Regions from separate parts of the Homo sapiens genome. Here all the other regions are linked to region 3. Evidence: promoter capture Hi-C in human tissues and cell types (Jung and others, 2019). All regions are on one chromosome and are shown on one strand. The core of a region is centred on a gene start or on the middle of the fragment in contact, and the rest is flanking DNA. Distances in the headings are between cores, read along the strand shown.

The links. Contacts are between HindIII fragments. The study calls those that stand out against the background at their distance.
Region 1: a contact is called between a fragment that was not itself captured here and the fragment with the promoter of STAC2 in region 3, in 2 of the 25 tissues and cell types used here (dorsolateral prefrontal cortex and spleen).
Region 2: a contact is called between a fragment that was not itself captured here and the fragment with the promoter of STAC2 in region 3, in 2 of the 25 tissues and cell types used here (dorsolateral prefrontal cortex and spleen).
Region 4: a fragment that was not itself captured here is called in contact with the fragment with the promoter of STAC2 in region 3 in 2 of the 25 tissues and cell types used here (spleen and stomach).
Region 5: a fragment that was not itself captured here is called in contact with the fragment with the promoter of STAC2 in region 3 in 6 of the 25 tissues and cell types used here (IMR-90 fibroblasts, bladder, dorsolateral prefrontal cortex and 3 more).

The regions. Positions count from the first base shown.
Region 1 is chr17:38,983,581-38,988,306 of GRCh38, reverse strand. No RefSeq gene overlaps it. Among named protein-coding and RNA genes, the nearest start is that of FBXO47, 19 kb to the right of the region's middle. The HindIII fragment of the contact is 7,886 bases long and covers 1-4,726 here.
Region 2 is chr17:39,020,724-39,025,753 of GRCh38, reverse strand. The region is part of intron 1 of LOC105371767 (a long non-coding RNA gene); the gene reads left to right. Among named protein-coding and RNA genes, the nearest start is that of LINC02079, 3.9 kb to the left of the region's middle. The HindIII fragment of the contact is 5,779 bases long and covers 52-5,030 here.
Region 3 is chr17:39,223,141-39,227,603 of GRCh38, reverse strand. STAC2 (SH3 and cysteine rich domain 2) reads left to right here and starts at 1,659. Exons shown (of 11, transcript NM_198993.5): 1 at 1,659-2,191. The coding sequence starts at 2,102. RefSeq lists an enhancer at 1,901-2,401 and a silencer at 4,064-4,233. The HindIII fragment of the contact is 22,351 bases long and covers 1-4,463 here.
Region 4 is chr17:39,043,119-39,047,741 of GRCh38, reverse strand. It overlaps the pseudogene LRRC37A11P. Among named protein-coding and RNA genes, the nearest start is that of LINC02079, 18 kb to the right of the region's middle. RefSeq lists an enhancer at 467-1,666. The HindIII fragment of the contact is 7,953 bases long and covers 1-4,623 here.
Region 5 is chr17:39,363,645-39,368,655 of GRCh38, reverse strand. The region is part of intron 1 of FBXL20 (F-box and leucine rich repeat protein 20); the gene reads left to right. Among named protein-coding and RNA genes, the nearest start is that of FBXL20, 35 kb to the left of the region's middle. The HindIII fragment of the contact is 6,030 bases long and covers 1-5,011 here.

The DNA.
Region 1 (4,726 bases), core at 1,864-4,363, 240 kb after region 3:
TATTATTTAGCCTTTAAATGGAAGAAAATTCTGACACATACTACAACATGGATGAACCTTGACAACTTTACAGTAAGTGAAATAAGCCAGTCACAAAAGGACAAATATTGAATGATTCTACCTATATGAGGTAGCTGGAGCAGTCAAAATCACAGAGACAGAAAGTAGAATGGGTGGTGCCAGGGACTGGGGAGAGGCAGGATTGGGTAGTTATTGTTTGATGGATACAGTGTCTCATTTGGGGAAGATGAAAAAGTTCTGGAGATGGATGGTAGTCATAGTTGCACAGCAATGTGAATGGACTTAATGCCACAGAACTGTACACTTAAAAATGGTTGGCCGGGTGCGGTGGCTCATGCCTGTAATCCCAGCACTTTGGGAGGCTGAGGTGGGCAGATCACAAGGTCAGGAGATCAAGACCATCCTGGCCAACATGGTGAAACCCCGTCTCTACTAAAAATACAAAAATTAGCCAGGCTTGGTGGCGCATGCCTGTAATCCCAGCTACTCGGGAGGCTGAGGCAGGAGAATTGCTTGAACCCGGGAGGCGGAGGCTGCAGTGAGCCGAGATTGCGACACTGCACTCCAGCCTGGGCAACACAGCAAGACTCCGTCTCACAAAAAAAAAAAAAAAAAAAAAGTGGTTAAAATGTTAACTTTCATGTTGTGTATATTTTACACTATAAAAAGTGGTTAGTACAATTCCAGATAGTATTCTTCTCTCGGAAGAAGAAAGGAGATGCAATTGGAGAAGTGGCACATGGGCTCCCTGAACGTGACAATGTTCTCTTGCTTGACTGGCAAAAGATTCATGTGTGTTCATTTTATTGTTTTTTTTAATTACTTTTTTTAATTTTTTTTTTGAGATGGGAGTCTCCCTAGTCTCACTTGGTCACCCAGGCTGGAGTGCAGTGGCACAATCTGTGCTCACTGCAACCTCCGCCTCCTGAGTTCAAGCGATTCTCCCGCCTCAGCCTCCGGAGTAGCTGGGACTATAGGCGTGCCACCACCACACCCGGCTAATTTTTGTATTTTTAGTAGAGACGGGGTTTCACCATGTTGGCCAGGCTGGTCTTGAAATCCTGACCTCAGAGGATCCACCCATCTTGGCCTCCTGAAATGCTGAGATTACAGGCATGAGCCACTGCGCCCGACCCTTTATTTTATTTTTGATATAGGGTTTCCCTCTGTGGCCCAGGCTGGAGGGCAGTGGAATGGTCATAACTCACTGCAGCTTTGACTTCCTGGGCTCAAGCTGTTCTCTCACCTTAGCACCCTAAGTTGCTGGGACCATAGGCACATACCACTGCCAGGCTAATTTTTTTTTTTTTTTTTCAGTAGAGACGAGGTCTTGCTATGTTGCCCAGGCTGGTTTCAAACTCCTAAGCTCAAGCGATCTTCTTGCCTCAGCCTCCCAGTGTGCTGGGATTACAGGCATAAGCCACCACACCCAGCCTTAAATCATTTTTTTCATGCGTGATTTTCTTTTTTTTTAATGGAGTCTCGCTCTATTGCCCAGGCTGAAGTGCAGTGGTGCGATCTCAGCTCACTGCAACCTCCACCTCCCAGGTTCAAGCTATTCTCCCGCCTCAGCTTCCCAAGTAGTTGGGATTACAGGTGTGCACCACCACGCCTAGCTAATTTTGTGTTTTTAGTAGAGACAGGGTTTCACCATGTTGGTCAGGCTGGTCTCGTACTCCTGATCTCAGGTGGTCCATTCGCCTTGGCCTCCCAAAGTGCTGGGATTACAGGCGTGAACCACTGCGCCCAGCCAACATGCATGATTTTGTATGCATGCTATATTTCTGTTAAAATTTTAAGCACTTATATACATATAAATATTAGGAATACAAACACATGTGGTAAAACTATAATTAAAAACAAAGGAATTTAAAAACATGAATTCAGGATAATGGTTACCTCCAAGGAGAGAAAGAAGGGAGGGGACCTAGGAGGGAATCCCAGTGGACTTCAAAGTTCACAATGATGTTGTTCCTCACGTTTCTTACATGAGTGGTGGGGAATACATAAGGGTCCATTGTATCATGATTCTTTATTACTTTATATATTTTGCAAATATTATTTTGATCTCTTCAATATTTAATAATTTTTTTTGAGACAAGGTCTCACTCTGTCACCCAGGCTGGAGTGCAGTGGCGTGAACGTGGCTCACTCTAGCCTCAACCTCCCAGGCTCACGTGATCCTCCCACCTCAGCCTCCCAGGTAGCTGGGACTACAGGTGGGTGCCACCATGCCTAGTTCATTTTTTACATTTTTTGGTAACATTTTTGGTTTCATCATGTTACCCAGGCTGGTCTCAAACTCCTGGGCTCAAGTGATCCTCCCATGTCAGCCTATCAAAGTGCTGGGATTATAGGTATGAGCCACCACACCTGGCCATAAATGTAATTTTAAAAGACATTCCTAACAATATAGTTTTTTTGTTGTTGTTTAAGTTTGGGCTTTATTTGTAAATCTGGCTCAGTGTCAACACCAAGGCCATCTACTTGATTGGACTTGTCTAGACTGCTTCTTTTCCTAATGCCTTTGTGGTGCTGTGTGATGACCATAACCCTCAGAAAAAATACTTGTGATGGACAATTTCAATACATAGTAAACTATCATTCTTCTTTATGCAAGTGGCTAAAAGGAGAAAATGGCCCTTTTCGGGGTAAAGTTTTACTGAGGCTCCTCAGGTACCTCGAAGGGTACAAACCGGGCCACTATGTCCTTTGGCTGCGTGCAGCCCATTAGCTTCCTCGGCCATTTTCCAACGTTAACAAAGGAACAATACCTAAAATACAGCCTCAGGACAGACGTGGTGCCTCACTCCCATAATCCCAGCACTTTGGGAGGCCAAGGAGGGCGGATCACTTGAGGCCAGGAGTTCAACACCACCCTCACCGACATGGTGAAACCCTGTCTCTACAAAAAACACAAAAATTAGCCGGGTGTGGGGATGCATGCCTGTAATTCCAGCTACTCGGGAGGCTGAAGCAGGAGAATCACCTGAACCTGGGAGGCAGAAGTTGCAGTGAGCTGAGATCATATCACTGTACTCCAGCCTGGGTGATGGAACAAGACTCCGTCTCAAAAAATAAATAAATAAAATAAATAAAATACAGCCACATAAGTAGCCTGTCATGTTTGATAATAAAAACATTTTTCTAGGATAAAGTACCAAGTATCTCTACTATTACATCAGAAAGTATGTACAGCTTATTATAATGGGAGTCCAGAGAGCTGCTTAGCTGAGCCCCCATTGTCACAAAGGGTCATCAAATTCAAACTTTGACGTCATCTCCAAATGAGAGCACAACAGTCTCAAAAATGAGCAAGAATGAAGATATCCCTACAACTTTATGTTGTTGCTTTGAAAAAAAAAAAAAAGAAGAAATGAAGATATTCATTATACAGCCTTAAGCATATGTCCCAATACCAGCCCACACACTTTCTTTAGTGCCCTGTGAATTAATATTTCATATGTCCTATTATTACCTTATGACTGGCACAGTTATATTGCAATGTATTCCTTGGTTTGGAATTCTAACTTATTAAACATAAATTTTTTTAATGTAACACAAATTTTATAACACTGCTTTGGTGTTTCTTCGTTTTGTAATATGAGCTTTTAAAATTTTGGGTTGGTTGTCTTTGACTTTGTAATGAAAAAAAATTGACAGATTGACAGAGCACGGTGGCTCACACCTATAATCCCAACACTTTGGGAGGCTAGGGTGGGCAGATGACCTGAGGACAGGAGTTCAAGACCAGCTTGGCCAATATAGTAAAACCCTGTCTCTACTAAAAAATACAAAAAATTAGCCAGGTGTGGTGGCAGGTGCCTGTAATCCCAGCTACTCAGGAGGCTGAGGCAGGAGAATTGCTTGAACCTGGGAGGCAGAGGTTGCAGTGAGCCAAGATTATACCACTGAACTCCAGCCTGGGTAACAGAGGGAGACTCAGTCTCAAAAAAAAAAAAAAAAAAAAAGGTGGAGAGAGGGGAAGTTCTGGAAATATCCCAAAGCTTTTTCTATCATAACTTAATATTATATTTTTATGTCTAATTAAATTTGCAGCCAGGTACAGTGGCTCACATCTGTAATCCGAGCACTTTGGGAGGCTGAGGCAGGAGGATTGCTTGAGCCTATAAGATTGAGGCTGCAGTGAGCCATGATTTGTGCCACTGTACTCCAGCCTGAGTGACAGAGCAAGACCCTGTCTCCAAAAATAAAAATAATTTTGCTTACACTGAGCATAATATGCATAGTGAAATCTGCATAGTGTGACATATTTCAAGGAATTTATTTATTTATTTATTTATGACAGGGTCTTGCTATATTTCCCAGGTTTTAATTTGCAGTGTATTCACAGGCACAATTATGTGCACTATAGCCTAGAACTCCTGGGCTCAAGCCATCCTCCTTTTTCAGCCTCCTGAGTTGCTGGGTCTAGACTACAGGTGCATGCCATTGCTCCCAGCTCTCAAGGAATTTATTTCTTTTCTTTTTTTTTTGAGACAGAGCGTTGCTCTTCCACCCAGGCTGGAGTGCAATGGCTGATCTTGGCTCACTGCAACCTCCGCCTCCTAGGTTCAAGTGATTCTCCTGCCTCAGCCTCTTGAGTAGCTAGGATTACAGGCGTGCGCCACCACGCCTGGCTAATTCTTGTGTTTTTAGTAGAGATGGGGTTTCACCATGTTAGCCAGGCTGGTCTCAAACTCCT
Region 2 (5,030 bases), core at 1,692-4,191, 200 kb after region 3:
CTCCTGGCTTCAAGTGATCCTCCTGCCTTGGCCTCCCAAAGTGCTGAGATTACAGGTGTGAGTCCCCATGTCCGGGCTCACACCTCAGTTTTTTTGTTTTGTTTTGTTTTGTTTTTTGTTTGTTTGTTTTGAGACGGAGTCTCACTCTGTCACCCGGGCTGGGGCTGGAGTGCAGTGGCGCGATCTCGGCTCACTGCAAGCTCTGCCTCCTGGGTTCACGCCATTCTCCTGCCTGCCTCAGCTGGGACTACAGGTGCCTGCCACCACGCCTGGCTAATTTTTTGTATTTTTAGTAGAGATGGGGTTTCACAGTGTTAGCTAGGATGGTCTCGATCTCCTGACCTCATGATCCACCTGCCTCGGCCTCCCAAAGTGCTTGGATTACAGGCGTGAGCCACCACACCCAGCCCTCAGTTTTTAACATATGTATAAAATATTAACTGTGTTTGGTTCAAAGGACTTTATGATCTTACAGATAGGAACTAAGGAATAATAACATAAGAAATACAAAACTGTGGAAACGAAAATGTTCAATCATAATATGATTAAATGGTGGCCAGGCGTGGTGGTTCACGCCTGTAATCCTAGCACTTTTCGAGGCCGAGGCAGGCGGATCACCTGAGGTCAGGAGTTCAAGACCAGCCTGGTCAACGTGGTGAAACCTTATCTCTCCTAATAATACAAAAATTTGCCAGGCGTGGTGGCCCACGCCTATAATCCCAGCTACTCGGGAGGCTGAAGCATGAGAATTGCTTGAACCCGGGAGGCGGAGGTCTCAGTGAGTCAAGATCGCGCCACTGCACTCCAGCCCGAGTGACAGAGTGAAACTGTATCTCAAAAATAATAATAATGATATGATTAAATTCTAAGACATAATAAGGCGGGGGTCAAAGTAAGTTCAAATCTGGAATAGAGACCACTGGGCTGGTAGACACTTCACATTAGAAGCAAGGGCCAGGTGTCTACTCCCTGAGAACCAAAATTCCACCAGATACAATGAACAAAGTTTCAGAGAGAGAGAACATTTGAACATTTTATTGCAGAAACTGGCACACATACTCTATAGACAATACAACTTCCTTCCAGGCAAACTAGAGCCATAAGGCTTTTGGTCTAAGAGGTTTTGAAGGTGTGCAAGGGATACCTTCGAGTATGAGGGAGAGGTAAACAACCCACACATTCAGTTTGGTTCTTAAAGGTTGTTACTCAGACTTGACAGTTGATGACCAAGGAAGTAATACTTTCACTAGCAGGGCTGCCCAGGTTGGAAAGCTGAGAGCAATCAGGGCCGTCTCTTACAAGCAAATAAAGGTCTGTGGTAACTTAATTAGGATCTCTCAGTCTCTAAGCCTTCAGCACTGTGAAGCAGGAGCAACTCTGTTCAGGGACTCTTTGTTAATCATCAGGTTTCCTTTAGGCACAGCCTATAACATTTGTGCCACTGTAGAAGTGAATGGGGAATACAAACAATGCCATTCAATAGCATGACCACTTCCAAGGTTCACAGCAAAGCCGCTGATTATTGTATAAGAATCATACTTACGGCCTGCGCGGCAGCTCACGCCTGTAATACCAGCACTTTGGGAGGCTGAGGCGGCAGGATCACCTGAGGTCAGGAGTTCGAGACCAGCCTGACCAACATGGTGAAACCCCGTCTCTACTAAAAATACCAAAAATTAGCCAGGTGTGGTGGTGCATGCCTGTAATCCCAGATGCTCAGGAGGCTGAGACAGGAGAATCGCTGTAACCCGGGAGGCAAAGGTTGCAGTGAGCCAAGATCACACCACTGCACTCCCGCCTGAGCAAGAAGAGTGAAACTCCATCTCAAAAAAAAAAAAAAAGAAAAGAAAAGAAAGAAAAGGAAAGAAAAAGAGAAAAAGGTTTGGTTGGCTGGACATGGTGGCCCATGCCTGTAATCCCAGCACTTTGGGAGGCTGAGGCAGGTGGAGGCCAGGAGTTCAAGAACAGCCTGGCCAACATGGTGAAACCCCATCTCTACTAAAAATAGCCGGGTGTGGTGGCACAAATAGTGGAGAAAATTATGGATACCACCCTCCAAGTGATTGAGATTATTAATTCTAGGTAGCAGGCCAATTCAGACATATCCACTTATCCTCAATGGCAGGAGGCCTCTCATATCTCCTCACTACAACCCAGTTCAATATTTCTGTCTAAAGTCTAGGATTTCAATGTTGAAAGGAGAATAGGGTTGGTGAAAGAAAATCTACAAGGTTTGCCCTGATGATCCCTTTTGACCATCCATTGAAACCAAAGTAGCAATTTGTCAGTTCTTGGCATCGGGAACTGTTTAGGGCAATGGCCTGACATTGAACTGCCTTATGTCTGGTGCCGAGACGAAACTACAGTCACAAGAGATAGACCCATAAATATCACAACCTGCCAGAGATTTTATTTTGCATACACCTGACATTTATCAATACCAAGTGTGCAAAGAAAAGAAATTGTTTCAGTCTTCCCATTCAGTAGCTCCTGCTTGAGTATGTGACCTGAAGAACAGGTAAAAAGAACCCAACACCCATCCCCCTCCCCAAGTGACTAACCCGTGTTAAATGAAGAAATACACGTACCTCTATGAATTTTACAAGCAACTAAAACAACTAGAGGTTCATCTGCATTTATAAGCTTATTTGGGAATGCAAGTATCTACTGAGTGTTAATTCTTGAAATAATTTACACATTCCTGTGGATTTCTTACATCATCAATTCTTTTTGTTTTGTTTTGTTTTTTGAGACAGAGTCTCGCTCTGTCACCAGGCTGGAGTGCAGTGGCGCCATCCTGGCTCACTGCAACCTCCACGTCCCGGGATCAAGCGATTCTCCTGCCTCAGCCTCCCAAGTAGCTGCAACTATAGGTGTGCAAATCAATAAAGAATTAACTTTACTGTTAATTCTTATTAATTTCTAATACAAATAGATTTGACTTCATTTGTATCATTTGAATTTCATGAATATAATCATATACTACACTTAAAAAATAGACATATAAGAAAGAATTGGTGATGTAAGGCTGGGCACGGTGGCTCACACCTGTAATCCCAGCACTTTGGGAGGCCGAGGCGGGCGGATCACGAGGTCAAGAGATCGAGACTATCCTGGCTAACACGGTGAAACCCCGTCTCTACTAAAAATACAAAAAAAAAAAAATTAGCCGGGTGTGGTGGCGGGCACCTGTAGTCCCAGCTACTCAGGAGGCTGAGGCGGGAGAATGGCGTGAACCCAGAAGGCGAAGCTTGCAGTGAGCCAAGATTGCGCCACTGCACTCCAGCCTGGGCAACAGAGCGAGACTCTATAAAAAAAAAAATTAAATTACTTTCTCCAACTGAAGAGAAGGAGAAATGCATGTTGGGAAGGAGAAATGAAGACTAATTTTCGAATGTTGAGTGCTACCGGGAAGACTGGCCGGTATCATGAGTCACGGTGGAGTCTTTCTGGACAACCAGGATGCTTCAGAAGGACTCGGAGCTGCTGGGTGGTACAGACATTTGTCACCTTGGATAACCTTGCCACAGTTCTTGCTGGCAACAATTTCCCTTCATTTCACTGAAAAAAAAAAAAACAAAAACAAAAACAAAACCCTCTCAGGTGCCTTAGGCCTTTCCTTGATTTTATTTTAAAACATTATTCTCTTTTCTGTATTTATAAAAGGCAAAAAACACAGAAACTAGGTGTATGTGCTAAAGTAGAAAAGAACACTTAAACTAGATAACAGTGGGGGTCGAGTAGTAACCCCAGGCTCTAAGTTCAGTAAATAAATAAATCTAATATGAATTACATTTCTCCTCTCACCTGTCTGTTGAGTTGTAGAACATTTCCTTCATTGCTGCATCAGTGATGGGCTTTATGCTGTGAAATTCTCAAAACCTAAATCTTATGAAATGGTCTCAATGTCCAAAGAGCACTAAAAACTCATTACTTACAAAATGATACCAAGTAACTGTTTCATTTTTTTTTTTTTGAGATGGAATCTCGCTCTGTTGCCCAGGCTGGAGTACAGTGGCACGATCTTAGCTCACTGCAACCTCTGCCTCCCAGGTTCAAGTAATTCTCCTGCCTTAGCCTCCTGAGTAGCTGGGATTACAGCACGCACCACCACGCCTGGCTAATTTTTGTATTTTTAGTAGAGACGAGGTTTCACCATGTTGCTCAGGCTGGTCTCGAACTCCTGACCTCATGATCCACCCACCTCGGCCTCCCAAAGTGCTGGGAATACAGGCATGAGCCACTGCACCCAACCCGTTTCATAATCTTTACCGTACCTTTATATTTGAATGGCTATGTGAAATGGTCACAGGTTAGAAACATCATAGTCCAAAAGTTAAATAATACCTCGCAGGTAATTGTTTCAGTTACAGGAAGTGGAACCAGGACTGAAGAGGATTTTTATGGGTTCAGAATGGGAGAGTGTGTGCTGACTGGTTTGTGAGTATGCCAAAAAGGCTGAAAAAAAAAGGCACCACTTAAAGATGGGCACAGCGTAAAAAAACAGGGAAGAGTAGGCATATGTAAAATAGGTTAAAGGCAGGGATCGATCAGAGGAAAGCGTGCCAAACAGAAAGAGAGGTTCTCAATCTGTCCACGGATTTATCCAAGACTTGTAGCTTGGCTTTCAGCCTTTAAACTGTCTGGTTTGGAGGTCAGCTTTCATTGGGGACCCACCCCTGTCTGCCTAGGATCTGTCTGCCTCCTGCCGCTATCAATACCTTAACTTTAAAATATTGCCTAAAAAATGCTGACAATCATCTGAGCCTCTGGCAAGTCATGATCTTTTTGCTGGTGGAGGGTCTTGCCTCAATGTCATGCCTGCTGACTGATTAGGGTAGTGGTTGCTGAAGGGTTGGGTGGTCATAACAATTTCTTACAATAAGACAACAGTTATGTTTGTCACATTGATTGACTCTTCCTTTCACAAAAGATTTCTCTGTACCATGCACTGCTGTTTGATAGCATTTTACCCCCAGTAAAACTTCTTTCAAAATTGGAGTTGATCCTCTCAAACTCTGCTGCTGCTT
Region 3 (4,463 bases), core at 410-2,909:
CATAAGGGCCCCCTTCAGCACCTCAGGCCCCCCATGTGGCACCCCCCACCCACAATCTTACCACCCACAGCAGAGGAGGAGGGAGACTTAAACCCAGAAGTCTCTCCACCCACACCAGGGAAAGGTTCTCTCAGCCACCAGTGCATCTCCCTTTTCTTGGGCAGACCAAGAGAGGAAGCCAGATCTGCTGGTCAGAGCCAGAAGGGGCAGAAGGAAAGAGGGCTGGAGGTGAGGGAGGGGGACCTGAGAAAATGGGTCCCAGATAATCAACATGCATTAGAAGAGGTATCTTGGTCAGGTGTGGTGGTTCACACCTGTAATCCCAGCACTTTGGGAGGCTGAGGCAGGAGGGTCACTTGAGCCTAGGAGTTTAAGACTAGCCTGGGCAACATAGCGAGACTCCATCTCTACAAAAAATTTTAAAATTAGCTGGGTGCAGTGGCATGTGCCTGTGGTCCCAGCTACTTGGGAGGGTTGAGCCCAGGAGGTCCAGGCTACAGTGAGGTGTGATCAAGCCACTGCACTACAGCCTGGCCAATAGAGCAAGATCCTGTCTCCAAAAAAAAAAAAAAAAAAAAAAAAAAAAAAAGAAGAAGAAGAGAAGGAGAAGAAGAAATATTGGAAATATCTTGAACGGGCACAGTGGCTCACGCCTGTAATCCCAATACGTTGGGAGGCCAAAGTGAGAAGATCGCTTGAGCCCAGGAGTTGGAGATCATCCTGTGTAACATAGCAAGACTTGTCTCTACCAATAAATTTTAAAAATTAGCCAGGCATGGTGGCGTATGCCTGTGGTCCCAGCAACTAGAGAGGCTGAGGTGGGAGGATTGCTTGAGCCTAGGAGTTTGAGACTGCAGTGAGTTATGATCGCACCACTGCACTCCAGCCTGGGTGAAAGAGTGAAACCCTGTCTCTAAATAAAAAAATAAAAAAATAAAAAATAGAAGGTTATTGTGGAGAGAGGGGCACCTTGGAAGGTGATGGTGAGGACCTCTTCCCCCACCTCTCTGTATTATCCCCTGATCTAACTCCAGTTGTGGTAGGATCTTTAGGAGGGGAGCGTGTCTCAGAGAAGTTTGGGGACTTTGGGTGTGAGGACTGAGCCCCCATCTCTGCTGAAGTTCAGACGCCAAGACTGGAAGGGGATAGAGTCATCCGGCTTTCCATCACAAGGAGGAATTGTCCGGCCTGGCCTTTGACACATACACCATAGTCCAGTTGTGTGTATATTTGGAGAGAGCCTTTTCAGGGTATAAAGGCATCCAATTAATGGCACAGATGGGTCCCCATTCTTCCTTCACCAACCTCTGGCATCTATCAATCTTCGCTCTTTGGAAGTCCTAGCTTCGATCTCACTCTCCGCTATCTTGCTGCGGCCCCAACCTATTTCTATTCCCTGCAACCCATCCAGACGCTACTATGATCTCCCCAAGCTTCCCTCAATCTGGTCACGCCCCTCCATCCCGGGTTTTTCAGTGTGAAACTCCCTCCTCCGCTTCTTTCCCCGCCAAGCCCCGCCCCATCGTGTCGAGCCCCCCAAGACTCCGCCCAGTTCGCCCTCCTGGCCACCGAGGCAGCCAATAGCTGAGAGCCTGATTTGCAGGGCTGCGCGGGGGAGCGGCGTAGGGCAGGGGGCGGGACCAGGCGACCTCCTAAATCAAAGTTGGGCGGCGAGGACTGGGCGGAGGGGCCGCCGGGTGCCGGGCTGGGGCCGGCGGGGGAGGGGAGGGGATGGGGGGCGGGCGCAGCGGACGGCGGAGCCGGCTGGACACGGACAGCTCCTTGGCTCCCTCCCTCGGCTCATCCCCGCGGCCCCACTTCCCTCCTCCCCGCGCTGCGAGCAGCATCCTCTGCAGACCCTCGGTCCTCGCGCCCGGGGTCGTCCCGCTCCTGCGGCTCAGCGTGGTGGCCTCCCCTCGCCCGCCACCCCGGCAACTTTCTCTGCCCGCTCCCGCGGGTTGGGGGCTGCCGTGCCGGGGGCTAACTGGGGGCAGCCTCTGGAGAACGGCTTCAGAGTCCCGGAGACGCCCGCCACCCGCAGCCTGCCCGCGGTGGGCCTGCCGTCGGATCTCGGCACCCTCTCCTCCCCTCTCCCCGAACCATGACCGAGATGAGCGAGAAGGAGAACGAACCGGATGACGCGGCCACCCACAGCCCCCCAGGGACCGTCTCCGCCCTCCAGGAAACCAAGGTAACTTGGGGGGCGCAAGGCCTGTCCGCGCCCCGGGCCCGGGCGCCCTCTTCCCGGCGGGGTCCTCCTGTGGGCCCGGGCGTCCTAGGGTCGCGGTCGCGAGGCCCGCGTGACCACTGAGGCTCCGCGCCGCTCCCGGGGGTAGGAGTGGGTTGGCGACGAGGGGCCACAAGGAGCCCCCGATCACACCGGCACCGCACGCCCGCGCGCGCCATCGCGACCTTCTGGGGAGGCGGCCACTGGTCTTCGTTGGAGAGATGGGCGCAGCGAGGCCGGAGGGCGCGCGTGGAGCGGTGCGGGCGGGGTACGCGCCCGGCTGTGCGTGCGAGGCGCACCCTCCAGCGGCCGCCGGGTCCCAGTCCCGGGCTCAGTCCGCGCCTCTATCCTCGCTCGTGTCTCTGAATTTGTCTCTACAACCTGCGTGTCTGTGTCTTGGTGTCTCTGTGTGCGTCTCTCCCCGTCTCTCCCGGCGTCTCCGGGTGTTTATCTCCGCGTCTCAGGGCGTCTCTCCCTGCCCCTCCGCAGTCCTGCATTCCCCGCTCCTAGCCCTGTTGGGCTCGGGGACGCGAGGCCGCGGCCGGGGGTGCGCAGCTGCGGAGTCCGCGAGGGGGCCTGCAGCAGCGCCGGCCGTCGGTCACGGGCGAGGACGGGGGCCTGCGGTTGTGGCTCCAGACCAGAAAGACAGGCAGCCCCGCGCCCCACCACGGGAGCGGGACCAGAGGAGGGGGAGCGGGTAGAAGCAAAAAGAGAAGTCATCGTAATTAATGAATGTCATCATTAACCCTAATTATGGATGATTGTTACTCCTGAGGGAGTCACCATGAATAAATTACTCCCCGCGAAGGCAGGCGGAGCCCAGACTCCTGGCGCTGAAAGGGGTGTGGGGAGGCCGCCGCTCACACTCAGCACTCCCCCGACCTCTAATCCGTCTGCTCCCTTCCCAAGTTCTAGGTGCTGGCGACTGGCCCGCGAGAAGTTCTGTTTCTGCGGGATCAACCTGAGCGGGCCTGGGGTTGGGATAGAAAGGGCTGTGCCAAGGGCGCGCCCTGCCACCTCCCAGACTTCAGGCCAAGACCTCCTCCCTCCCCCTTCACCCGGTATTTTGTTCCCATCCTGCTCCTGTTCTCCAGAGGCGAAAGGGGACAGTGAGGACCAGAAATGATGGGAGCCTGGGCTCCGGAGGCGTCCTGGGTTCGCTAGGCTTCTTTCCACTGTCCCCCTTCCTCCTTCTTCCATCTTGACCATCCCGCAGGAGCTGAGGTTAATTCAAGGTCAAGGTCATCAAGGGAGTGACCGGAGGAGGAGGCCGTAGGGTCAGGGTGGAGTCTGGCAGAGGCACCCCAGGGAGCCCCCATCCTGCACCAGGGGACCCAGCAGGTCTCCACATTCAAGTCTTCACATGCACACCTGACTCTCTCTTGCCCCCTTCTAAAAATGAGACTCTGGTCTGTGAGGCCAGAGCTGACTCCCCTTTAGAGAGCCAAGTCTCAGTCTCTCCTGGGAAAGGACTAAGATGTTTGGGTGGGAGGATATTGCTTGGAATATTTGTGACAACTTCTGTCAAGCAGAAGGTCTAGGAGCTGAACCTCCCCTGAGTTCCAATGCCCCTGATTTCGGTTGCCCTCTAGTCACCTGGGTAGACATACACAGTCCCCCTGCTTGCCTCCAGGGGCTTGGGGGCCTCCCAGGCCCTGCCCTGTTTCCCACACCAAGGCCTGTCCTCTCCAGCCTCCTCCTATGTGGGAGTGCTGGAAGGCGGGCAGGAGTGTGGGGTAGTGCTGCCTCAGTACTCCAGCAAGCTGCCTGCTCAGCTGTGTGGGGAGGGAAGGTCAAGGGCCACAGGTCTGTACCTCTCCCTCTTCCCAGGCCAGGGACCCTCCAATGTTGTCACCTCTGGGTCTGAGCTTGGAGATTCAAGGAGTAGGGGAGGGGAGGGGTTACACCCCTGATCCGGCCCTTCTGTGTCAGGCCAGCTGGAGCCCCGGCCCTCCGCCCCTCCCCTATACATCACTCTTGTGAAGGATTCTGCACTAACACAGACTGGGCTGTGGGTTGGGTCGGGGGTATTCAGCAGGGCAGAGGTGGGCAGAGAGAGAACTCAGGACCCCTGCTAGCCTCCTTCCATCCTGCACCTCAACCTGGCCCAAAGAAGCTCCTGTCTCCAGACTGTGGGTGGAGATGGAAGAGTACAGTTGGGTGCCGCCCACCAAGCTCAGTGTGAGGCAGGTACAACAGAGGGGGCCAATGCCCTTCAGGCAGTGATGCCAACATT
Region 4 (4,623 bases), core at 135-2,634, 180 kb after region 3:
TAAACCCTTTCTTCTGGAGGGCAGCAGTAGACATGGGATTTGGTGGTCTGACACATCTGGGGACAGATCCCAGTTTCAAATGGCAGAGTCTGTTTACAGCTTACAGGGGAAATACTTAGCACTATGTGCTGATCTTTAGGAAATAAGTCTATGTTTCTTTCTTTTTTTTTTTTTTTTTGAGACAGAGTCTCTGTCACCTAGGCTGGAGTGCAATGGCGCAATCTCAGCTCACTGCAACCTCCACCTCCTGGGCTCAAGCAATTCTCCTGCCTCAGCCTCCCGAGTAGCTGGGATTACAGGCACATGCCACCATGCCTAGCTAATTTTTGTATTTTAAGTAGAGATGGGGTTTCACCATGTTGCCCAGGCTGGTCTTGAACTCCTGACCTCAGGTGATACACCTGCCTCAGCCTCCCAAAGCACTGGGATTACAGGTGTGAGCCACCACGCCCAGCCCAGTCTATATTTCATAACAAGTGTTGCAAACAAATGCTTGTTCCTCAGTGCTGCAAAGAAGAACCAGCACTTAAATAATTTTCTCAGCAAGGCAAATTTACTTTCTGCAGAAAGGGTGCTTCTTGGAAGCTGGACTGCCACGAGAGCACACTGAACAAAGAAAGGCAGGAGTTCTTATCCCTGACGCACTGGGCTTCTACTGCTGTGTCCTACCTCCACTGGTTGGAGCTGCACCTCACAATCTAAACTGATCCCGACTGGCTAAAACCTTGAAATTTTCCTAAATAGGTAAAGGTGCAATGGGAAACAAAGGAAGGGAGGGGACTTTTTACAGGAAACTAGGAAGGCAATAACATTTCCAAATAAGGAAGGGGCATAGGCTGCAAGCTGGGACATGCCTGGGCATGTTCAGGCATGTCTGGACAGACTTAGGGAAAAAATGAGATAGGCCTTGGTTACAATATAAGAACACAGAATATACTCACTCTTTTACTCCATTTAACAACTACTTGGGCTTAACAAAGAATTATTAGTAGAATAAAAGATCTGTTAGTGTGAGATATGAAAAGCTGTGGAGATTTAAAAGAAATATTTAAATAAATCCCTTTTATTCAAAAAGGTGAACTTGAAGAGGCACTTATCTTTATCAACAAGTCACATGGGGATAATGAAGGAATGGCCTAAAATGCTCTCCTGAGTCATCCCTGAGGGCCAGGCTTGGTGTTAGGCATGGTGGGGAAGGGAGTGGGGTTGTGTGCAGAGGAGGACATGATTCTTGCCTTGTCAGGGTCCCTGACCTGATGGCGATCCATGTTGTCATGTTCATAGTGACAGACACCACAGCAAGAGCAGACCCAGGTTGTGCAATCCCCAAAGCAGAGCTCCTCACTCACTTGGATAGATAGAACTATTGGCCTCAATTCCTCAGCCCTCTTAGTACCTACCGCTTGCCATGGTTTCGTTGTGGGTGGAGGATACTTTCTTGCCCCGGCTTCAGACTTGCCCATGTGGCTTGCTTTGGCCATGGAATGAAGCAGAAATGAAAGCCTACCAGTTCCAAGCCCACACCTGAAGATATCTTAGGCGGTTCTGCGGGCCCGCGTGTGCTTCCACCTTCATCCAGATGCACTTCTCTGGTGCAGCAGCCGCTTCTTCAGCTTTGGCCCAGAAGGAACGGAGCCCCCTGGTGGATCCGCAGGCCTGCAGGGAGCCACAGAGCACGTCCAGCGTTCACTGAGGGGATGACTGCGTGTCACCCGCTGCCCAGCTAGAATGACACCTCTCCAGGCCTCTCCACCACGTTACTCCACCATAGACTCCCTGCCTGCTTCTTCTGCAAAGCCTTGGACACCCAAACACCTACCAAAAAGTGGGTAGGGTGCCAGGACACCTCCAAGTATAAGTGGGGCTCCCCACCACGCCTAGATGTGGAGGTATGCTGCAGAGTGGTGGCTGCTTGTGACACTCATTTCACCCCTGTCTGTGCAGGTGACAGAAGCCCAGGAACCACACGTCAAGTCTCCTTTGCCAGCAGGGTGCTGCCAAAAAAATGCAGTCATGTAAAATTTGGAATATGGAAAGGAGGTAGAAGTCATCCTTTCCTCCCGGCTAGCAGCAGACATGCAGGCTCTGGTAGTCAGCTGGACTCCATATTCCCCCATCAGTCACCAGCCTGGGGACCATGGAGCTGGAAGGACCTCAGCAGCAGTTTCCCAAGTTTGCAGAGGCCTGAGGCCTGAGGTCCTCCCAGGGGACCTCACACTCCTCCCGCTCAGCAGCCAGACGACTTTCTGGTTTGAGTTTTCTCTGTTGGGGCTTCACTGCCCCTGGGATAGGAATTAAAATGCCAAGCTTGTTGATTCTTGAAAGGAGCAATTCAACTTTTCACTCCCTCTTCATTTTAGATGGGAACCACGAAGGCTCTGTCGTTTACTCCACGTCCTTGTGAAAGATGTCATCCTTGTTGGAAGACTCCTTGCCGTGAGGTTTCTGTGCCATGTTTTTCACGCGTGCAGCACTGGGAGGTCTGTACATACCCCTAAGCCAGAGTGGCTGTCTTAACTAGACAAAGCCATCCTGGAGGATAGGGAAATATGCATTTTGCATGTCCTCTGCTTTCTCTGGCCACAGCAATGAATCCTCCAATGTACCTGAGTTTCAGTTCGCCATGAGCATCTCCTATGTGGCAGAAATCTGAAAATGCCTCCGGGGAGACACGTGGACAAGACAGTGAGTGATGCTGCCGTTCCCACGCCTCTCACAATGTACTTCTCTGGTCTTATTAGGACTAAATGAGTACCTCAGTCCATAGTAACAGTGATTAGAACCACTGCAGACCACATACCTGGGGTCTTGAAAATAATTCCAAGCATGCGGGACTTTCAGAAGCTCTCCATGTCTGTCCAGAAGGGCCCCACAATGTCTCGGGGAGACTTTGTATGTGGCTCAGCATGGAGCCTGAGCAGGATTTTCAGCCCCACTCACCCCCTTGGCCAAGTGCTCTCGTGCAGTGAACACCCATGCTGGGCAGAAGCATTTTACATCAGTCCTCTTCGGAGTTAGTCTCCTTGGCATCATTTGATGGGGGGTGGGAAATGAAGTAGTTCTTGGCTAACTTCTTGGCCCCTGCACCATGTGAGGCTGTTCCAGCTCCCTTGGGGCTGGACTCCTGAGCCTTTTTTTCTTTGGCAGTGTTCTCTACAAATGCCCGGGCATCCTGTGATCCGCCCGCCTCGGCCTCTCAAAGTGCTGGGATTACAGGCGTGAGCCACCGCGCCGGGCCAAGGTATAGCCTTTCTACATTGCAGAGTCATTCAGTTTCCAAAATTATGGAGCTTGTATTATTAGAACCAATGAAGTGAGTAAGAAAATTTTTTAAAATAAGCCATCAATCCGGACCTGTGTAGGTAAATGAAGGAGAAGCACTTTAAAGTCAGGGAAAAAATATGTACATACTTAACATTTAGTATTATCAACCACTGCTGGTTTTCCATAGACCATTTCATTCCTGATTTCATCTGTAAGAGATATGATTATTGCTACCATTCAGAGGGGGACTTTGATTGTTAACTGCCTGGTCCTCCTTGCTTGGCGCCCTGCAAACCAATGTGCTCCTTTCTCCCACTGCAAAACCTCAGAATGGTTTGGCTTTACTGTGCTGGGCCAGTGGACCCCAGTTAAGTCCGCTAATAAGCTCTTGCTATATCCTTGGGATGGGTTTCAAATTCAAAATAGACTGACCCTACCACACCGCTAACTCGGCTGATCAGTATTTGTCAATAACATAGAGGCTTCATTCAAAATTGTAATTATTGGAACCCAGGGTGATTTCAGGATTTTATGGGGCCTGAACCTTACCTATTAATAATAAAAACATGGAAAAGTATGAATACAACGATTCCCAAGGGCCTCCCAGGACCGTGCAAGTGAGAAGCCCTGATGCTGAGGCTCTATTCAATTCATCATCATTCCACCACAGCTGGGGCCCCCCCTTTTTTTTTTTAACAAACTTTTGTAATGCAATAAAATATACTGTTTCAACTTACAAACACCACAGAATAGTGTCATATCGGTCACAAAATTACTGGCAGCTTCGCTTGGCAACTTGCCTTTGGAAAGAAATGCAATGGGCATATATCTCACTGCAGCAAATGTTTCCTGAAGCAAATTAGTTCTGTTTACTAGAAAGATTCGACCCAAAACAAAGGAGCCCAGCCCCCAACATACATTTGCTGTGTTGAGACCATTGTGCCAATAGGGTCACTTGTTTCATGCCTTTTCTTGCCCATGCCAAAGGTCAGAACTAGGAAAAGCAGGGCAGGTCATATATAAACTATATAAGTTTCTTGGCCTCTTCGTACTTTAGTTTCCCCATTTGAAAAAACGAATGGATTTAAGACATGCTTTTCAGAATCCATAATGGGCTTATACCCAGCTAACCAATAATTGTATGAGGTTCTTACATGTAAATAGTTGTTTACATGTATTCATCTTCTATTTCACTTACAACTTGTGTAAAAACTGCATTCCGTGCCAGGCCTGAAAGGTTCCAAAGCTCAGTTCTGTCAGTAAATTGCAACCAAGATTCCTACCAAAAAAGACACAAGCCAAAGAAGAAAAATATGTATGTTCTTTCAGAACATGTATCACTTGCATTGATTCTAATTT
Region 5 (5,011 bases), core at 1,304-3,803, 140 kb before region 3:
CAAAAAAGTTAGAAGGGTGTTAAGTGATTTAGCTAAGCGGAGGAAACTACACCCTTTGTTGTTTTTAGAGGGGCTTGTCAGGGAGAAGCAAGTATACTGAACAGCAACAAAAAGTATACTCAACAAAACTCAGGACTTGGTAGGAAAGAGACTTAGGACTTGGTAGGAAAAGGTCTCTTAAGAAACAGATGAGGCTTGAGATTAAAATCAGGTAGTGGTGAAATGTCTTTCTTTTTCATTCTTAAAAATTTTTAAGTTTTTTTAGAGACAAGGTCTTGCTTTGTTGCCCAGGCTGGAGTGCAGTGGTGTGATCATAGTTCACTGCAGCCTTGAGCTCCTGGGCTCAAGTGATCCTCCTGCCTTAGCCTCCTGAGTAGCTAGGACTACAGGAGTGCACCACTGTGCCTGTGTAATTTTATTTTATTGTTTTGTAGAGATAAGTTCTCGCTGTGTTGCCCAGGCTGGTCTTGAACTCCTGGCCTCAAGTGATTCTCCTACCTTGGCCTCCCAAAGTGTTGAGATTATAGGAGTAAGCCACTGTGTTTGGCCTAGGATACTATTCTTAAAAATCTTTCACAGGCGGGGTGTGGTGACTCACACCTGTAATCCCAGCACTTTGAGAGGCTGAGTCCAGCGGATCACTGGAGGCCAGGAGTTTGAGATCAGCCTGGCCAACATAGTGAAACCCCTTCTCTACCAAAAGTACAAAAAAAAGAAAAAAAAAATTAGCTGGGTGTGGTGGGGCGTGCCTGTAGTTCCAGCTACTCCGGAGCCTGAGGCAGGAGAATCTCTTGAACCTGGGAGGCTGAAGTTGCAGTGAGCTGAGATTGGGCCAGTGCACTCCAGCCTTCCAGCCAGGCTGATGGAGCCAGACTCTCAAAATATATATATATATAAATAATCTTTCAATAAATAGAAACTTATTGAAAATTTTAAAATATGATAATCCTCTGTCCCCCAAAAAGAATTAGTAAAAATTTGGAAGTAAAGTCAAAGCAATTTGGATATAGGAGAAAAATTATTTAACAAATTAAAGATTCACTGGGTATGGTGGCTCATGCCTGTAATCCTAGCACTTTGAGGGGCTGAGGTGGGTAGATCACTTGAGGCCAGGAGTTTGAGATGAGCCTGGCCAACATGGTGAAACCCTGTCTCTACCAAAAATATAAAAATTAGCTGGGTGTGGTGGTGGGCGCCTGTAATCCCAGCTACTTGGGAGGCTGAGGCAGGAGAATCACTTGAATCTGGGAGTTGGAGGTTGCAGTGAGCCGAGATTGCGCCACTGCACTCCAGCCTAGGCAACAGAGTGAGACTCTATCTCCAAAAAAAAAAAAAAGAAAAGAAAAAGATAAACCAGGAGGTCCAATGTTTGACTAATAGGAATTCTACAATGAGAGGACAGAGAAACCAGAAAAACTTCCAAAATATTTACCAGATTGAAAAATATAAACTTCTAGATTGAAAGGACTGATAGGCTGGGCGCGGTGGCTTATGCCTACAATCCCAGCACTTTTGGAGGCTGAGGCAGGCAGATCTTGAGGTCAGGAGATCGAGACCATCCTGGCTAACACGCCGAAACCCCGTCTCTACTAAAAAATACAAAAAATTAGCTGGGCGTGGTGGTGGGTGCCTGTAGTCCCAGCTACTTGGGAGGCTGAGGCAGCAGAATAGCGTGAACCCAGGGGCAGAGCTTGCAGTGAGTCGAGATTGTGCCACTGCACTCCAGCCTGGCTGACAGAGCGAGGCTCCATCTCAGGAAAAAAAAAAAAAAAAGGACTGATAGAATAATAACCTCAGACCAAGAGGCTTGATGATGAAATTTTGGTAAACTGAGGATAAAGAGAATATACTAAAAGCTTCCAAAAGTAACTAGAGGTTACATTCAAAGGACCCCAAATTAGAATGGCATTATATATCACAGCAGAAACTTACGAGGTCAGAAATGCATCAAGCAGTGTCTTCAGATATCTTCAGTGGAAAGGATTTTCATCTTATAATTTTATTGCAAGCCAAATTATCAATCAGATGTGAGTCTAAGGTAAATACATATTTTAGACATGCAAGAGACTTAAAAACCTGAGTTCCCATGAGCTGTTTTTTCATAAATTACTGTGAGATGTTCCCTTAAAAAGCAAGTGAGACAATATGGGGTACTGGAAACAATGCAATAAAAGAGAAGAGCTACTGGAGAGCCCAAGATGACAGTTGTGTAGCCAGTCTAGGGAATTTCTTAGAGTGTAGGAAAAGAAAGTGTTCTGGGAATGTTTAGCACCAGAGAAAAACAGTATCTGATGCATTTGAGCATATGGAAAATATTCAGATGTGACAGATTTTGGAGCAGTTGAGGGAAAAGAGTCTAGAAAGTAGAAAAAAATATGATAGCCTATATGTAGGGTGAGAAAGAGTCCATAGTCCTATTGTCTGCTTGTCCTGACACTGAGTAGTATCTAAATACTAAATATTCACACGGACGCTTAATTTAAACAAAGATTGTGAGAAAATTACACTGAATACAGCCAGAAGCAGTGGCATGTACTGTAATTTCAGCTACCTTAGAGACTGAGGCTGGAGGATTGCTTGAGGGTGTACTATGATCGCTCCTGTGAATAGCCAGTCTACTTCAGACATAGCGAGACCCCATCTCTAAAAAAAAAAAAATTTTTTTAAATTCCGTTGTTGTCTTTTAGTATCCACCTCTTAGTTCTTTCCTGTGTTACAGATGAAGTGAAACTAAGGGAAATGGAGGAAGGAGGAGGAGAGGTGGACATGAAATAATATTGTCACTTTGAATTTTAGTTTCTTTCCTTTCACTTCATAACTTCAAAAGAAGTTTTCAGTAGGGCATGGAACATTTCCAGGATTAAGCAGCACCAGTTCAACATGAGATTCAGTCATATTCAGTTCTTCAGAGTTCATGGAATCCTCCAGGTCCTAGACTGTTGCTGAGGATGGTTAATGTCAAATAAATTAAAAATACTGAAAAGAAAAAAATAAAAGTGTGTAGATGCTCTATTTTTGGACTGAGAGCAGTGAATTGGTAGTGGACATAGGTTTGGGTTAAGTAAATGAAACAGAAGTCAGCATAAAAGAAAGCTCAGAATATTGAGTCAGATGTTAGAAGGTGTCCAAAGCAGAAAGTTTGACCTATTAAGTAATGTGTCTGTTAGCTAAATGTATTCCTTCCGTAATGTTTTTATCTAGTGATTTCTTTCTTAGGAGAAGTTTAGTCATGAGACGGCAATGCACTGGCAGTAGTTAGCTTCTAAAAAGCAATTTTATTTCTGCTAGGGACAAGATGTTGGGCGGAGGAATTATAAACTTACTTTGTTTTAGGTTTATCTGGCCAAACAAAAATGTTTTTCCTTTTAGATTCGGGCAAGAAAACTGGCCAACTGGAAAAAACATCTGGTGTTGGTTGAATGAAGGAATGGCATAATCAGTAAAAATTACTTATAGGAAAAATACACATTTAAAAAATCTTCTGCAGCTTCAACTCTGGATTTTTTTTAATGAAAATTGATTCTTAATCTCTCATTAACATTTTCCTACCACCAAAAGATTTGACCTGTATTGGGCTACCTTTGTATGTTAGAAATTTTGCTTAATCTATGAAATTTCTTTTTTTAAATTTCTTAATCTATGAAATTTAGATCGTGAGTCATAAACTTCTTCAATAGAGAACCTGTTTTTGTAGTATTTGCTATTTAACAACCACCCTGTAACTTTGTGGCTTAAAACAATTCATTATGCAGCCTGACGGTCCTGCCATCTCCCCAATAGGTCGCTCATAAGACTGCAGTCATTTGGTGACTTGAGTGGGGCTTACGTGTCTAAGATGGCCTCACTTATACTCTGAGACCTTTTGGTGTTGCTGTCAGCCAGTTCTTGTTCTCCACATGATCTCTCATCATTCAGGAGTTTAGTGTGGACTTCCTTAGATGGCTGCAGGAGTCTGTCAAGAGGGTAAAGCTTTATTGTCTCTTAAGTCCTAGCCTGGGAAATCACAGTGTTATTCCTGCCACATTCTTTTTTTCTTTTTCTTTTTTGAGACAGGGTCTTGTTCTGTCTCCCAGGCTGGAGTGCAGTGGCACGACCTTGGCTCACTGTAACCTCTGCCTTCCCTGGCTCAAGCAATCCTCCCGCCTCAGCCTCCTGAGTAGATGAGACTGCAGGTGTGCACCACCACGCCCAGATAATTTTTGTTGTTGTTTTTGAGAGAAGGTATTGCCATGTTGCCCAGGTCTCAAAATCCTGGCCTCAAGCAATCCACTCTCCTTGGCCTCCCAGATTGTTGGGATTACAGGCGTGAGCCACTGCACCCAGCCCCACCACATTCTTTTGGTCAAATCAAGTCACTATGTCAACCTAGATTCAAGGGGTGGGAAAATAAACCCCATCTTTTGAAGGGAGAAGCAACAAAATTGCATTGCAAAGGGGCATTGCCACAAAGATATGATTCATTGGGACCCAGGCGCAGTGGCTCACATCTTGTAATCCCAGCACTTTGGGAGACTGAGGTGGGCGGATCACTTGAGGCCAGGAGTTCGAGACCAGCCTGGCCAACATGGTGAAACCCCGTCTGTACTAAAAATACAAAAACTAGTCGAGCGTGGTGGCACATACCTGTAATCTCAGCTACTCGGGAGGCTGAGGCACGAAAATTGCTTGAACCCAGGAGGTGGAAGTTGCAGCGAGCTGAGATCGCGTCACTGCATTCCAGCCTGGGCGACCGAGTGGGACTTTGTCTTCAAAAAAAAAAAAAAAAAAAAAAAGATATGATTCATTGGGTTTCATTACTTACTTTTTATTGTTTTTTTTTTTGTTTTTTGTTTTTTTTTTTTTTTTGAGATAAAGTCTTGCTCTGTCACCCAGGCTGGAGTACAGTGGCCAGATCACAGCTCATTGCAGCCTTCAACTTCCGGGCTTAAGCAATCCTCTCACCTCTTCCTCCCAAGTAGCTGGGACTATTGACATGTGTCACCATGCCCAGCTAGTTTTTAAAATTTTTTCT